Linked DNA regions of Homo sapiens: regions 1 and 3 are each linked to region 2. The links are contacts of gene promoters, found by promoter capture Hi-C in human tissues and cell types (Jung and others, 2019). All regions are on one chromosome and are shown on one strand. The core of a region is centred on a gene start or on the middle of the fragment in contact, and the rest is flanking DNA. Distances in the headings are between cores, read along the strand shown.

Region 1 (2,700 bases), core at 29-2,528, 85 kb after region 2:
TCTCTCAGGTTTATTTTTGGTCTGATTAGTTTCCTGGTTGTTGTTCCATTTTTATGAGCCATTTCTTTCTCCAGGTTCTCTGTGAAATCTCTATCTGGTCATGCAGGGATGTTTGCTTTCTTGAGGGTCTGCTATTTTAGGTGCTGGCTTCACCCCATCTATCCTGGAATTCTAATACTGTATTTAAAAATAATAGACTGTGACTTTATAAAGTTTTCCTTTTGACGTCCCCTTAATAATCTCGCTCTCTTTCTCTGAAATTTGGCATTCGGGTTTGGGGTGCAGCTTGAGGCAGGAGCAGCACAAGCTGTAGAGAGGGAGTATTGTGCATTCTTACCAAGAGGCCTTTTGGCAATGCAGATGCGGAGCTGAGCATGCTGTCTGAGTCAGGGCAAACTCTGTTTCTGAGGCTTGTGCTCTGAGTCAGGATCTGCACCAAGGACGGCCCAAGGTCGCCAGCCTTGTGAGTATACCCCTGTCTCTGCGTGTGGCCTATGTGCAGGCTTCCTTCCACACGCCATCTCGCTACTGGCCTGACGTGCTTCCTGCGATGAGGCCAGAATCTCTGCAGGACAGACTAAGAGAATGGGCTGAAGTGGCAGCAGGAGAAACTAATTTTGCTGGAAAGTTTCTAAGGAGCCCAATTGGGAAGCTCAAGGAGAAGGTGAAACCTCTTTGGAGATATTTAGAATATCTATCTGTGTGAGCAGGAGATGCAGACCCAAGGGAAGCAAGGGCAGCTAGGGTGGGGGGATAGGAAGGGAGTTCCTAAAGCTTCTAGGCTGAAGCTTCTGCTGATCAGGATCATTTCTCCACTCCAGCAGCAAGTGCCTGACCAGAGTTGTTAAGCTAATTGTTAAATTAGAGTGGCTGGGGAAGCAAATTGCTTCATGATGGGGCTTCTCTGACTGTGTCCAAGGCTGATGTCATCTGGCCTTGTGCCTTGTTGAGGGTGTGGTGTGGGGCGGTGGGCAGGCCTGACACACGTGTTAATGAACCTTCATCCGCTGTAGCAAGCCCTTGCTCCTCGGAGGAGCCCGCATCTTCCATTGAGGGAAAATCACTCCCAACTCCTCTGTGCTTCTGTTTAATGTCCCCAACTCCTGAGTCTTGCAATGATGATATTTTAGATCATTTTCTCTAGAGGTTGTGAACTCAGTTCCCTACAGGGGCCAGACCATTAGCATAAAAGATCATAATGACCCATGTATAGATGATGAGTGGCAGCAATCAGGGACAGTAGGGGTGGTGGGGACTGTGGCAAACTGGAGGGTGGTGTCCCAGCAGCCACTCAGCCCCAGCTGATTGATGCCATGTAGGAATGTGGGCTCCATGTTGCCAGACCTTCCTGCTTCAAGAACAGCGGCAAATATGCACTTTCTTTGTGAAGTGGCCCAGTTTTTAAATGTTGAAGCTAATTAAAAGACATTGTGTTGGTCAGAGTCCATTCACAAGATGAGTTTGTCCTGTGTGCCCCTAGTTTGCAGCTTCTGATTCTGGTTCAAACTCCTCGGTTTACAGATTAGGAAACAGATCCAGAGAAGTTAAGCTTCTGGTCCAAGGTTACAGGGAGTCAGTGAAGGAGTCAGAATCACTACCTGTGGCCTCTAACTCCTGTCTGCTGCTATTCCACTTCTTGGTGCTGGTTTGGGACCAGACATTGTCTGCGCTGGGTCAGGCTGGCCAGAGGAGAGTAGACCTGGGTGGACATGGTTGTGTGATGTCTCATGTCGCATTATTATCCCTCTGCTTTTGTGAGTTGCTGAGCTCAGATGCCCCAGATGGGTGGGAAGGCTCAGGGAAGTCAGGAAGCTTTTGCAGGTAGCAGCAATGCTTAGGGAGAGGAAAAGAGTGGAGAGGATTTAGGCTGCCCCCTGGTTTGGGGCTCCTGAGGACTTAAGGCCATTCATTCCTACTCTTCATTCCTACTCTTTCCCATGCCATGCACATATGCAGGGCCACTCATTCATTCCTACTCTTTCCCATGGCATGCACATATGCAGGGCCACTTCCAAATCCGCATCCTTCCAGTCATTCAGGTGCATAGCTTGGGATCATCCTTAATTGTCCCCGCTCTTCCTCTGGAACTTCTCAGCTCTGAATCCCCTTGCCAGTTCTACCGCCACTCTCCAGTTCAGAAGTTTAATGATACAACATTGGTACTATTGCAATAGGCTTCAAACCTGACTCCCAATCTATTCTCCCCATTACCGTCTGATACGTCTTCCCAAGCACAGTCTTTGAACCTTGGCATGCTCCTGCTCAAAGTAGCTCCCATTGGATAAAGTAGCAACTCCTTAACTTGGCATCCCAGGCTCCAGAGCACCACAGCATTGCTGCCATGGTCATAAGGCTGGCCTGGGTGTGCATCCCAGCTCTGCCACTTATCAACTGTGACATCATGGGCAGTTTTCTTGACTTCTGTGGACCCGTTTGCTTCTTTGTGATAGGGGGTTTTACATAGAATTGTTTCAACGAATAAATGAGATCATGAATGTAAAGCAGTTAGCCTGGCATATACCGACTACTCAAAGGTATTATTCAAGGACCTCTACGCTCTGGCCCCGGTATTACCTGTCCCATAGGCTTAGCTCCAGTGACTTGAACTACTTGGTGATCTCTGTGCCTTTGCTCCTGTTTTTCCATCCTCTAATATTCATCTTTTTGTGGTGCTCCTTTATATATTTTGTGCTGTAGGTA
Region 2 (2,700 bases), core at 61-2,560:
AAGTGCTGAAGAATGTAGGTCTTAAAATAGACTATAGCCTTGTTTCAGGGATCTCTCACTTGGTTTTATTGGTATGGGCTAAACAGGGCTTCCGTTTCATAAATGAAAGTCTCCAGTAACATGAATGAAAGGCTCCAGGGCAGAATCTCAGAGGGTTTCTATGAGTATCACTTGGAACCAAGCACAGGCAACTGCACATCCCTGTTTGGGTTTGGAATTGGAGATGGTGGGTTTGGGATGTGGTTACTCTTGTTTGGAATACATTCTCCTCCTCTTAACAGGTTGATTCTTCCTTTGGAGGTCTGCTTAACCTTCCCTGATTACCCTGTCAGTTCCATTGTACATACCCTTCCAGAGCATCACTTACCTATCCTTAGTGTGATTCTTTGAGTAACATGTGTCTCCCCCAGCAAACTCCACGGCAGGACTGGTCAGTTTTTGCTCACCACACCATCCCAGTGCCTAGCCCAGTGCCTGGAACTTAGTGTTCAATAGGTACTAGTAAAAATGAATGCGTGATAGCAGTCTATGAAGTGCTAGCTATAAAATGAACACGTGATAGGAGTCTATGAAGTGCTAGGTATAAAATAATGCGTGATAGGAGTCTATGAAGTGCTAGGTATAAAATAATATGTGATAGGAGTCTATGAAGTGCCAGGTATAAAATAATGCCTGACAGGAGTCTATGAAGTGCTAGGTATAAAATAATGTGTGATAGGAGTCTATGAAGTGCTAGGTATGCCCATGACATCCACATGACAATTCACCCAGAGGTATTTTTATATCCCTGTCGCTGATGAAAAAGCAGAGGTGTGGCTCCTCGGTGGAGGGCTCTGATTCCAAACTCTTGAGCCTCCCAACCACTGTCCTCCGGGTAAGAAACCGTATAATAGTATTCTGGGTACAAAATACGCACACAAATTGGCCAGAAAGCCATAATCCCCCACAGTCACATTCTCTTGAAGATCCCCTTGCCTTCCCCTTGCCCTGTGAACAAGGAGAGGCTCAGAATCCAGGGGGCGTCCGGCAGGGCTCCTCCCTCAGACCAGCGCAGCCCTCGGGGCGCTCAGAGCCCTGCCCTCCCTCCACTTCCCCTCGGGGTGGCTACCTCAGGCTCGCTCCCAAACCGGCTGTCTGGCTTCAGGCGACACCTGGCGCCTGGCCTCAGGCGAGAGGTGTGGGGAGAGACCGAGTGCCTCCCACCCTTCTTAAGAAGGAGAGCAGTAGAACCTCGGCGGGGAGGGCAGCAGCGGCCGGGGGTGACAGCAGCGGCGGGGCACGACCGCCGTTAGCGTTAGACGTTAGCGCTCCGCCTTCGCCTGGCAAACCCTGCGCGGGCTCCGCTGCCAGGTCACCAGGGGTAGCGCCGGGCGCGACGTCACAGAGCCGCCCCGCCTCTCCTGCAGCGGCGGGTTCCCAGGGTCCCGCTAGGGCGCTGCTAGGGGACGCTGAAAGCTGTTTTGGGCTTTGCTGGTGGTGGAAGGACCAGACGGCCTGGAGGGTTAAGGACTGGGCTGGGGACGTTAGGAAACCCGGGCTGGGGGCGTTGGGGGTGGGGCGGAATGTGTAGCCATTGACGGTGCGCTTTTGTAGGTGAGAGGGCAGAAGTGGAGCTTGATCTTTCGGCTTGTGGAAAGTGGACAGGTGAGAATTCCTCAGGAATCATAGTAACAACACTTCTTACAATGAGTTTTTGGTGCCAGGAATTGTTCTAAGTGCATTACACACATGAACTCATTTCATCCTTACTGTCACCCCATGAGGCAAGTACTATTGTTATCCCCATTTTTACAGATGAGGGAACTGAGCACAGAGAGGTTAAACTTGTCCAAGATGACAGTCAGCAAGTGACAGAGTCAGGATCTGAATCTGGGTTGCGTGGTCCCAGATTCCTCACTCTTGACCTTATAATGCTAAGAAAGGGGCATGGAGTGGATAGGAACAGAGCCTGAGATGCCTGGGGACAACAGGGAAAGATAGAAAATATTTATAGGGTAGAATGTGGTCACTGTGCCAGGGCACTTTTACAAACATGATGACATCAAAGTTTCACAGTAAACTCTGAAGGTAGGTATTACCTTCGCTTTGGAAATAAAAAACAGGCTCAAGGCTTCGAGTAATTTTGCCTGTGATCGAACAGCTGGCAGTAGGGCTCAGGGCCCAACTTTACTCCAGGTCTTCCGGTTTCAAGACTGTGTGTGTGTGTGTGTGTGTGTGTGTGTGTGTGTGTGTGTGTGTGTGTGTGTTTTGAGACAGGGTCTTGCTCTGTTGCCCAGGCTGGAGTGCAATGGGGTAATCATGACTCACTGCAGCCTCAATCTCCTAGGTCTAAGCAATCCTCCCACCTCAGCCTCCCAAGTAGCTGAGACTGCAGGTGCTTGCCACGATGACAGGCTAATTTTTATATTTTTATAAACGGGGTTTTGCCATGTTGCCCAGGCTGGTCTTGAATCCCTGGGCTCAAGTGATCCACCTGCCTTGGTCTCCCAAAGTATTGGGATTACAGGTTTGAGCTACCGCACCTGGTCTCAAGACTGTTCGTTTTAAGCACCCAAGGAGGCAAGAAAAGCCCCATCTTTCTCTGCTACATCCCGTGTCACTTCACACCTATTTTAAAGGGGCCCATTGCATCATCTAATCCTTCATTCCATTTATACAACAGTGTGTATTAGTCTAAATAGATTAGTTCACCCAGGCCCT
Region 3 (2,700 bases), core at 63-2,562, 120 kb before region 2:
GACAGAATACTCAGAATAGACCACACATACATGCTCAACTGATTTTCAACAAAGGTACAAACACAATTCAATAAGAGAAGGATAATCTTTTCATTGTGGTGCTAGCACTATTGGACATTCATATGCACAACAGAATCTCTATCTATACCTTACATCATGTATAAAAATTAACTTAAAATGGATCAGAACTAAATATACAACCTAAAAATGTAAAACGTCTTGAAGAAAGCACTGGAGAAAATCTTAATGACTCCACATTAGGTTAGTATTTCTTAGATATAACAGCAAAAGCATAACACATCTTTAAAAATTGATAAATTGAATTTCATCACAATTAAAGACTTCTGTCATGCAGTAACAGGCATTGTTAAAGAGAATGAGAAGACAAGCTACAGGCAGCGAGAAAATATTTGCCAAACACGTACCCAATAAAAGATTAATGTCCAGAATATATAAAGAGCTCTCAAATCTAAATCATAAGGAAACAAACAATCCAATAAAACTTGGGCAAAAGACTTAAACAGATACTTCACCAAAGACAATATATGTTTGGCAAATAAGTACAAAGATGTTCAACATCAGTAGTCACTAAGGAAATTCAAATTAAAAACACAATATGATAAAACTATACCTATTAGAATGTCTAAAATTTTTAAAATCTGACAATACCAAGTACTGACAAAGATGTGGAAAATATAACCCTCATATATTACTACCAGGAATGCAAAATGGTACAGCCACTTTGGAAAACAGTTTGGTATTCCATTACATTTACCATACCTCCCAGAAACCCCAATCCTAGATATTTACCCAAGTGAAATGAAATCTATGTTCACCTAAAAATCTGTTCACAAACATTGATAGTGAGTTGTTCATTATCACCTCAAACTGGAAACAGCCCAAATGTCCTTCAACTGGGGAATAGGTAAACACACGGTGATACGTCTTTACAATGAAATAATACTCAGCAACAAAAACGAATAACCTATTGATATACCCACCACCATGGATGAATCTCCAACACATTAATGCTAAGTGAAAGCAGGCACACTAAAAAGCCTACAAACCATGACTCCATTTATATGACATTCCGAGATAGGAAAGAACACAGGGAGAGAAAGCAGATCAGTAACTGCCAAGGTCTGCATGGTGGGAGAGCAGACAACAAAAGCTCACAAGGCAATTCTGGGAGGTGATGGAGCTCTTCTGTATCTCAATTGTGATGGTGCCTATATGACTATATATACATTTGTCAAAATTCAGAACTGAACTTCCTCATAATTATGTATTAATTGTTCAGAATTGTACATTAAAACAGGTGAATTTTACTGTATATAAATTATATCTACTTTTTTACATGAGAAAGAAAAAGAGTCTTCAAAAAAACCTATTATGATGCAGCATTGAAAAGAAAAGTTATTGTGTACCTGGGAAAATGCTGATCATTTGTCAAACAATGGAATAAAAAGACAGTAGAAACTGCCAAATTTACCAGACCAGAATACACCGAAACTAGGAAAAGTTGGTGTGACTGATTTATGTGCAACAGATGATCAGGTAGATACTGAATATTTATTTTTTTCAAAGTTTCCAGTTAACTTTTAGAAAAAGATATCTAACTTTTAGCAATATTACTTATAGAAAAGCTAGAACTCAAAATTTAATCTAAAGAATACATAGACAAAACCCTGGTAGACTTTAATATTCCTCAGACTTATTCTGTCAATCCTAAAGGTGCCAAAAATGTCAAAATTGTGGGCACATACAAAACTGGCCAAGGGAAGCAAAGACAATTAATAGTTCAATCTCACTTAGGACTACAGATGTAAAAAACCAAAATAAAATATTAGAAAATCAAAGTCACTGGGGTATTTTTTTTTTAAAAAAACTATACATTATGACTAAGTGTTTATTCCAGGAAGGCAAGAATGCATCAACATTCAAAAATCATGAACACAGATTATGAAAAACAGCATTTCACCTTGAAATCATATGTAACTCTGATAGATTATATCAGTTATCACATTATCATAGTTCAGAAGGATCTTTATATTTTGATTATAATGATGAAAAAACTGGTATGCAATTTCAAAAATTAAGGTATATTGTAATTTAGAAACTTTTCTAAAATTGTCTATATGAAAGGAAGTGCTTTTTCCTGAGAAACTATAAAGTGATACGAATCTTAGTGGCTATAATTTGGAATAAAGAAAATATAAGAATCCATCTTTTATCATGCTATTACCTTTATTTTTTCTCTTCAGCTGGCCCGAATTGGTTTCTGTTAATTTTGAAGAATCCTTCCTAATACACAAATCAAAGAAATAATAGAAACAATTACATAGTGAAACATCAAATCAGGTTGACATCACAAACATCTGGAAAGCTTTGTTAAACCAGAGATTCCCTGACCCCACCAAGGTAGTCTGGGCTGGGACTGGGGAGCCATAGATTATTTTTCAAACAAGGTTCCCAAAGAGATTTTGTTATCAGCCAGTTCTGGAACCACTGCTATGAGGAAACAGAGGCATTAACATGTCCTTCCCTTGATGTTTTTTCAGTATAGTTACAGATATAAAATTTTAGCATGAGAAAAATTAAACAAATGATAAAAACATACCATAATAATTTATGACTTGTCTCTGTAAAAAGAATTTTACAGGGACTTATTTCTAGAGAAGTTGAGGCTGAAAAGGTCAG

What was found. The method cuts DNA at HindIII sites, captures the fragments that hold promoters and counts their contacts. A contact is called where the count stands out against the background at its distance.
Region 1: a fragment that was not itself captured here is called in contact with the fragment with the promoter of ROPN1 in region 2 in 2 of the 25 tissues and cell types used here (IMR-90 fibroblasts and aorta).
Region 3: a contact is called between a fragment that was not itself captured here and the fragment with the promoter of ROPN1 in region 2, in 2 of the 25 tissues and cell types used here (liver and stomach).

Annotation. Positions count from the first base shown.
Region 1 is chr3:124,075,504-124,078,203 of GRCh38, forward strand. All of the region lies in intron 1 of KALRN (kalirin RhoGEF kinase), which reads left to right. Among named protein-coding and RNA genes, the nearest start is that of KALRN, 43 kb to the left of the region's middle. The HindIII fragment of the contact is 3,644 bases long and covers 1-2,700 here.
Region 2 is chr3:123,990,814-123,993,513 of GRCh38, forward strand. It overlaps ROPN1 (rhophilin associated tail protein 1), which reads right to left and starts at 1,311. Exons shown (of 6, transcript NM_001317774.2): 1 at 1,109-1,311. RefSeq lists an enhancer at 1,083-1,599. The HindIII fragment of the contact is 7,331 bases long and covers 1-2,700 here.
Region 3 is chr3:123,874,314-123,877,013 of GRCh38, forward strand. It overlaps MYLK (myosin light chain kinase), which reads right to left. Exons shown (of 34, transcript NM_053025.4): 2 at 2,246-2,304. Among named protein-coding and RNA genes, the nearest start is that of MYLK, 8.7 kb to the right of the region's middle. The HindIII fragment of the contact is 6,903 bases long and covers 1-2,700 here.